Linked DNA regions of Homo sapiens: region 2 is linked to region 1. The links are contacts of gene promoters, found by promoter capture Hi-C in human tissues and cell types (Jung and others, 2019). All regions are on one chromosome and are shown on one strand. The core of a region is centred on a gene start or on the middle of the fragment in contact, and the rest is flanking DNA. Distances in the headings are between cores, read along the strand shown. Region 1 overlaps MRPS21 (mitochondrial ribosomal protein S21). Region 2 holds the start of SV2A (synaptic vesicle glycoprotein 2A).

Region 1 (3,847 bases), core at 217-2,716:
TTAGTGAAATTCAAATGATTATGTAAAAGGAGCCAAGCTGCCTGGAGCGGGGGGAGGTGCGGGTGGCAGACTCACATGTCAGTGTAGCCAGTCTACGTCAGGACAGACGTGTATGCAGAAGGACTCAATGGACCCAGAAGGTAGCCCACTAGGAGTAAAAGGAGTCAACAGGGCATGCTTCCAGTGTACTCACCTTTCTTTGCTTGGGGGCCAGCCAATCATGCAGGGCTTCCTAGCAACCCCCACTCTCCACCTTCTCATCCCGGGGCACCAATGAGGGCCCCCAGTTATATAACAGGCATTTTGTGGTGGCCTCACTGGACAGACACGTAGGCTATTTCCTTTGTAAGACTCTCTCTGTACTCCAAACATGGTAAAGCTTTAATCACCTCCCTCTAGACTCATTTGCTCTCCTACCTATTGTTGTAATTAGACCACAGAACAAGCAAATTATTTTTAAACTACCAGCTATGAGAAAGCTGAAAGAGATCAGGAGAGGCCTGGAGTGTGAGAAAGATATACAGAAAAAGTGGCTAGAGAGAGGACATTTGGGAAAAGCAGAGAAAAAGAAGAAACAGAAAAGTGCATCAGTCAGAAAATGTGTTTAACAGGCAGCAGGAAAACAGAAGATTGGATCACTCCAAAATCAGTCTGCTCACGTATGCAAGCTTGAAAGTCCTTACCTAGAAAATTATTCTAAGAGGCCGGGCACGGTGGCTCACCCCTGTAATCCCAGCGCTTTGGGAGGCCGGGCGGGCCAATCATGAGGTCAGGAGTTTGAGACCAGCCTGGCCAACATCGTGAAACCCCGTCTCTACTACAAAAAATTAGCCGGACGTGGTGGCAGGTGCCTGTAATCCCAGCTACTCGGGAGGCTGAGGCAGGAGAATCACTTGAACCCGGGAGACAGAGGTTGCAGTGAGGCGAGACCACGCAGTCTGGGCAACAGAGAGAGACTCCGTATTAAAAAAAAAAGAAAGGAAAAAGAAAATTATTCTAAGACTGAAATATTTGTTCATTTCCCCCCTGCCCCGCGAAGCTATAATACAATTTATGGGACTCTGAGTCTATGGGACTTGAATTTCTTTTCCTTTTTTGAGACGAAGTCTCGCTCTCGTCCCCCAGGCTGGAGTGCAATGAATGGCGCGATCTCGGCTCACTGGAACCTCCGCCTCCTGGGTTCAAGCGATTCTCCTGCCTCAGCCTCCTGAGTAGCTGGGATTACAGGCACCTGCCACCATGTCCGGCTAATTTTTTTTCTTTTGAGACGAAGTCTCGCTCTCGTCCCCCAGGTTGGAGTGCAATGGCGCCATCTTGGCTCACTGCAAGCTCCGCCTCCCGGGTTCACGTCATTCTCCTGCCTCAGCCTCCCGAGTAGCTGGGACTATAGGCGCCCGCCACGGCGCCCAGCTAATTTTTTGTATTTTTAGTAGAGACGGGGTTTCACTGTGTTAGCCAGGATGGTCTCGATCTCCTGACCTCGTGATCCGCCCCCCTCAGCCTCCCAAAGTGCTGGGATTACAGGCATGAGCCACCGCGCCCGGCCAATTTTTGTATTTTTTTTAGTAGAGACAGGGTTTCATCATGTTGGCCAGGCTGGTCTTGAACTCCTGACCTCAGATGATCCACCCGCCTCGGCCTCCCAAAGTGCTGAGCTTACAGGGGTGAGCCACCGCGCCTGGCCAAATTTATTTTTCTAACCACTCCTCTTCTTTCTTAAAAAGAAAAGAATATAATTCTTTTCTTTTTAAGCAATGTAAATTGCTTTTTTCCAAATCCTACTCCTACTTTGGTGTTTTAATCCCTGAAGAAAAGGTAATACTGTGCTTCTTAACCAGGGTAATTAACAGAATGCCAAAGGATACAAGTTTCTGGACAAATTTGATGCATCTGCCTGGAGGCACCAATTTTAACTCGAAGGAGTGGGGGTGTTACCCATAAAACAGATGCAATGGCAACGAATACGAAGTTCACCTTACATTTTAATTTAGGGAAGCTTCAAAGAAATTCCATGTTTGCTTATAGTAGCAGAACCCCTATAGTTCATTCACTCTCCTCTGCTGTTAACGACACTTCAGTAAAAAAGTTTGACAAACATTAAATAAGTGACAAAAAAGATAAAGGAACATTTATGTTCATTAAGTAGACATTTAATGAGAGCTTTGGATGTGCCAGACACTTTGGTAAATCCAAGAGATACACAAATGAAAAAGCATAGGTTTCTGTCCTTAAGGAGGCTACAAGCCTTTTTTTTTTTGAGACAGGGTCTCACTTTGTCACCCAGGCTGGAGTGCAGTGGCGCGATCTCGGCTCACTGCAACCTCCAGCTCCCAGGTTCAAGCGATTCTCCTGCCTCAGCCTCCCGAATAGCTGGGATTACAGGTATGCACCATCATACCCGGCTAATTTTTATATTTTTAGTAGAGACGGGGTTTTACCATGTTGGCCAGGCTGGTCTTGAACTCCTAACCTCAAATGATCCGCCCCCCTCAGCCTCCCAAAGTGCTGGGATTACAGGCATGAGTCACTGTGCCCAGCCAGGAGGCTACAAGTCTATTATAATAATTTTCAATCCTGGTGAAATCTCATGGTATGTTTTTTAAAATGCTGCCATCCAGGTTGCAACCCCTGGAGATTCTGATTCATCTCAGATTGGGCCCTGGCATTAGTTTTGTTTTCTTGATGGTTCGTTCCCTAGGTGATCCTAATAGGCAGCCAGGGTTGAAACCACAGGGTGTCACACTGACCACTCTCCGGCTCTCTAATATTAACACTTCGACCCAGGAAATAGGTTTGTGTAAAATGCCAGTCACCAACAAAAAGAGAACCATAAAAGTAGTATGTGGGCTGGGTGTGGTGGCTCACACCTGTAATCCCAGCACTTTGGGAGACAGAGGCGGGTGGATCACCTGAGGTCAGGAGTTCGAGACCAGCCTGGCCAACATGGTGAAACCCCGTCTCTACTAAAAATACCAAAACTAGCCAGGCGTGGTGGCAAGTGCCTGTAATCCCAGCTACACGGGGGGCTGAGGCAGGAGAATCACTTGAACCTGGGAGGCGGAGGTTGCAGTGAGCCGAGATCATGCCACTGCACTCCAGCTTGGGGGACAAGAGCGAGACATCGTCTCAAACAAACAAACAAACAAACAAACAAAAAACAGAAAAAAAAACAGGAAAAGCAAAAACTGAGTGTTGATTAAATTAAAAATATAGTGGCTGGACAAGGATTTTTAAAAGAGGCAGATAAAAAGGGGTATAGACAATCTTAGACAAAGAAATAAGAGTCTTCTCTCAAAAGATAAGAGCTGGCCTTATATTTTCTGCAAACCTGGTATCAGTGAAGAGGATCAGGAAGGAGATTAGAAATATTTTGTTTCTCAGATTCTGTTTCAAATTTTAGGTGTAAATGGGGATGCATTCCATATATGATATGGGGCATCACTGCAGTCTCTGCCTCCCAGGTTCAAGCGGCTCTTCTGCCTCAGCCTACGGAGTAGCTGGGATTACAGACCTGTGCCACCATGCATGGCTAATTTTTGTATTTTTAGTAAAGACGGGGTTTCGCCATGTTGGCCAGGCTAGTCTCGAACTCCTGGCCTCAAGTGATCCACCATTCTTAGCCTCCCAAATTGCTGAGAATACAAGACTGAGGCACTGCACCCAGCCGCTACTCTCTTGATACAACTGTAAGAAGTGGTTCAGCTGGGCATGGTGGCTCACGCCTGTAATCCCAGCACTTTGGGAGGCTGAGGTGGGCAGATCACGAGGTCAGGAGATCGAGACCATTCTGGCTAACATGGTGAAACCCCGTCTCTACTAAAAATACAAAAAATTAGCCGGGGTAGTG
Region 2 (3,899 bases), core at 300-2,799, 380 kb after region 1:
GGACCCATTGGCATGGCTGCTTATTGCAGATGGCCAGATGCCATTAAAGATACAAATCCTCCAGTAATGTCATTGTGCATTTATACATTGACATTATGATTCTGATTTGGCTTCAGGGAGAGAATGTACTAGACATGTAGATATGAGTTTTCAGTCTGAGTGACAGTTAAATATTTATGATAAATTAATATTTATGTATTATGGCTTTATATTTCAGAAGATTGTGAACTTTGTTGGCATGAATGATTATTTCCAAGATCCAGCTTTGGAGTCTGCAAAGCCCAGGCCCGTGTCCCTGTCAGAGGTAAATTCAACCTGGCAAATGTTACCTGTGTGGTCTCTTCGGACATAGCCTGTCAGCCTTCTCCATGTATATATATCAGCATTCTGAAGCCTCCACATTTAGTAAGGCAGAATCACACGCTATTAGATCTGAGAGGGACCTGATGCAGTATCTAGTCCAAGCCCCCCTTTTCCAGATGAGAAACCTGAAGTTCACAGATGTGGAGAACTTGACCAAGAGTTGACAGCTTGTTAGCAGTGAGAACCCAGGTCCAAGCCCAGGTCAGTGCTGTCTGGAAGGTCCTGACCTTATCTGGCATAGACACATTCAGGATGTATTTCCCCAAATCACCATATTCCCTCTCACTCCTTCGGCAGGGATGGTCATCAAGTGTCACCAAGTGGCATGTCTTGGATCTCTGAGTCCAGGTTATTGATGCAAGAGCAAAGGAAAGATGAAGGGAAAAGCTGAAACAATTTACTTCTTCCTGCCCGGGAAGTACAAGTGTGTGGAGGGGAGGGGAGGGAGGTAGAGGAGAGTAAGAGAAAATGGAGAAGGGTATTGAGAGGATCCTTTTTGAGTCATTGGAGCAAATTAATGGAAGGGGAACTGTCCGGTTGGTCAGGTCTGTAAAAATCCCTCAACTTCCCCAGTACTTCTGCTACCACCAACTGAATGGACAGGATGAGGAGGTGTCCACTGTAAATAAGTAACCTGGACTGTTTTGTGAGGAAAGAGATGGAAGGAATCCAGGGGTCTCTGACTCTGGCAGTTCAGGATAGAAACCACACCTTGTTATCTCTGCTTTCTCTAAAATGTCCAGGTAAACTTGGAATAGGAGCACTCTGGATTTGGGAGACTGTTGTGAAAAAGGAGTTTGAGAGCAGTGGAGAAGGCAAGGGAGGTGTTTTGAAGGCAGCAAAAGCCCCTGAAATTATTGGGTCCTGCCATACTGAGACTGGGGTGCTAAGGAAGGGGCTGCCACATTCCCCATCTCCCTGTCTTCCCACTTGTCTTCCTAACATCACTGTTTTTTTCTTTAGTTCCTTCTATCTTTTACTAGGAAGGGCCTGGGAAGGGCTGGGTGCCATTTCCAGCTGTTCTTGTGACAACCTCCGGCCCTTTCATCATTTCTCCCCGTGCCCTGACTCCCTCCCCATCCTCTTTTCTCCTCTCCCCACCAATGGTCTCTCCCGATGCTCAGTGGCGCGGGGTAGGGGGGGGCGGAGGCGGGGCTGGAGTGGTGGAAGGGGGGTGGCAGGTCTGCATTGCCGCTTCCCTGGTGCCGGGAGCAGTCGCCGCTGCCGCCTCCGCCCGCGGCCGGGACCCCCGTCCTCGCCCGGGACTCCTTACCCGGGGAACCTAGACCAGGTGAGACCCCTTTCTCAGTCGCTCACCTCCTCCCCGCCCCTGGCAGAAGCATCTTTGCCTTGCCTTGCAGCCATTTTATCCTCCGATGCTTTGCTTATGGGGAGGGTGACGATCCCCTCTCTAGGGGTGAGGGGGGTTGGTGGGTTGGTGGTGGTTTGGGGATGGACATTTATTTCAGTTGTGCTCTTCAGGACACACACACACACACGCATATGTATAATATTGGTGAATGGGGAGGAGGGGTGTTTTTCTCTACCTTAACCAAGTCCCCACTATCCCCTTCGGAGATTAACGTGGTGGTGGGGTTGTGAGGTGGGATGAGGTTCCCTCAAACTCCTATCCCCTCCTCACCTTGACGTCCCCCCACCCCCAGGATGAATGATAAATGACCTTGGCTGGGGCTGGAGAATGGATGCTGCCTCAGTGTGCACGCCTGGACTTGGGTGGGTGGGGGGCAGGGGAAGAAGGGCAGGTGAAGGATGGAGGGAAGGGGAGTGAAGAATGGAAATACTGGGGAGACAGAGATGTAGAGCCGCCAGGTGTTGGGGGCATGGATGGCGGGGGCTGGCGGCAGTTGCTCCGGGGTGGGGGGAAGGGATGTTGAGTGAAGGTGGACACTTGTCTAGCAGCAGGACCAAGGGTGGAGGAGGTGCTCAGAGCAGGGATTTAGTCAGTTCTGGGGGCTTTTCCCTTATTCCGGAGCTGAGGCAAGATGGGGTGTGGGGGGGTCGCTGCAAATGCTGATAGGGGCGGTCTCTATGTCTGTGCATGCGGAGGTCTCTCCCTGCGTCCCCCTCTCTGCCTCTCCGTATTCCTCAGTGTGCATTCTCAGCTGACACCCTCATTTTTATCCCTCAGAACTGTGGGTGCTCCTATCTTCCTAACCTTGGTAGGATGTGGGGAGGGGAGGCGCAGTCTTGATGGTCCTGGGTGGGGGCTGAAGTTCGATGACCGGGCTGTCATGGGGAAGGGGTGCTCCCGCACCTCCCACATTCTACCCCCGCCCCCGCGGACGTTTTGATAAGTGATTGCTTTTTAATGACCTTGTCACCTGAGCTAGGAAGGCCTGGGGATCTGGGTGGACCCCAAAGTCAGGGGCTTTGACTGGGAGGGTGGGGGGTTCTGGACCCAGGGCTGGATGAGCTGTTCTGAAAGAAAGCATTTGCTCTGGAGTCCCCTGCCTGTCTCCACCCTCTGCAGAAAATCTCCTGGGCACATTTTTTCCTGTCAGGTGAAGTCAGCCAGCCTAGGACCTTGTAACCCTGAACCTTGTCTCCTTTAACCTCCACCTCTCCAAGTCTTGTCTCACTCCCCCAGGCTTAGCCACCCTGTGCTGTTTTGGGGGCTAAAAATAGCACCACTTCCTCACCAGCTCAAAGAATTTGTCTTCTTTCTTTCTCTCCTGACCTCCTGGGCTTGCTGGCCCTGAGGAAGCTGGCTGTTGAGACCTCATATCCTGCTGTGGTTGTGGAAGGCTTCCCTGCCCTACGTGCCCCTCTCAGGGGGAAATAGGGTCAACAAACATAGAGTATGGCTCCTGGTGGGTCCTGCCTCCTTCAGGGCTGGAGGGGAGATCCTGGTTAGGAAAGAGAGGAAAGCTAGCAAATTGCCATGCGCTGAGGGGATTCCGCAGTTCCAGCTCTTTCATGGGGGATGGTTGGGCCCTGAACCATGAAGAAAAGGTGACATAGGGGTCACTGCTTCTGGTCACCGTGGTCCACTGCTTACATCTGTCCTGAGGGGATAAGGCGCTGCTTGCCAGTGCTTCTCTCTGAACCACATAGCATTGCTTACCGTCTTCTACCAGGGCGTGTGTGTGTGTGTGCGTGTGTGTGTGTGTGTGTGTGTTTTAATGAAGGCCCTGGATGGGTGGGAGCACCGGAGGCAGGATATTTTTAGGGGGATGATTTCTGATCAGAATCTAGGCCTGCTTCCTCTGCTCCTATGAAGGAAGGGGGCTATCCCATGCCTTCCTCTGGAGAATGTCTTTTTTGGGGGGACACCCAAACCCCCTTTATTCTACATCCGCCTCCTACGCAATGCGGTGTTTGTGGACTCCTTCTTCCTTGACTCCTGGAGGAGGAGCAGAAAGGATTAAGGGGGATTAGGAAGGGAGGCCCTGGAGGGATGGGATGCAACTGTAGGCCTTAGAACCTCATGTTGGAAATGTATGCATTTGACAGTCATTTCCATTCTCACCCCCATCTGTGGAAAGGGGGCCTATCTATGACATTCTGAAGCAAGG

Evidence for each region. Contacts are between HindIII fragments. The study calls those that stand out against the background at their distance.
Region 2: a contact is called between the fragment with the promoter of SV2A here and a fragment that was not itself captured in region 1, in 1 of the 25 tissues and cell types used here (dorsolateral prefrontal cortex).

What each region holds. Positions count from the first base shown.
Region 1 is chr1:150,298,753-150,302,599 of GRCh38, reverse strand. The region is part of intron 2 of MRPS21 (mitochondrial ribosomal protein S21); the gene reads right to left. Among named protein-coding and RNA genes, the nearest start is that of MRPS21, 6.8 kb to the right of the region's middle. The HindIII fragment of the contact is 5,855 bases long and covers 1-3,847 here.
Region 2 is chr1:149,915,494-149,919,392 of GRCh38, reverse strand. It overlaps SV2A (synaptic vesicle glycoprotein 2A), which reads left to right and starts at 1,549. Exons shown (of 13, transcript NM_014849.5): 1 at 1,549-1,654. RefSeq lists a silencer at 1,636-1,705. The HindIII fragment of the contact is 19,885 bases long and covers 1-3,899 here.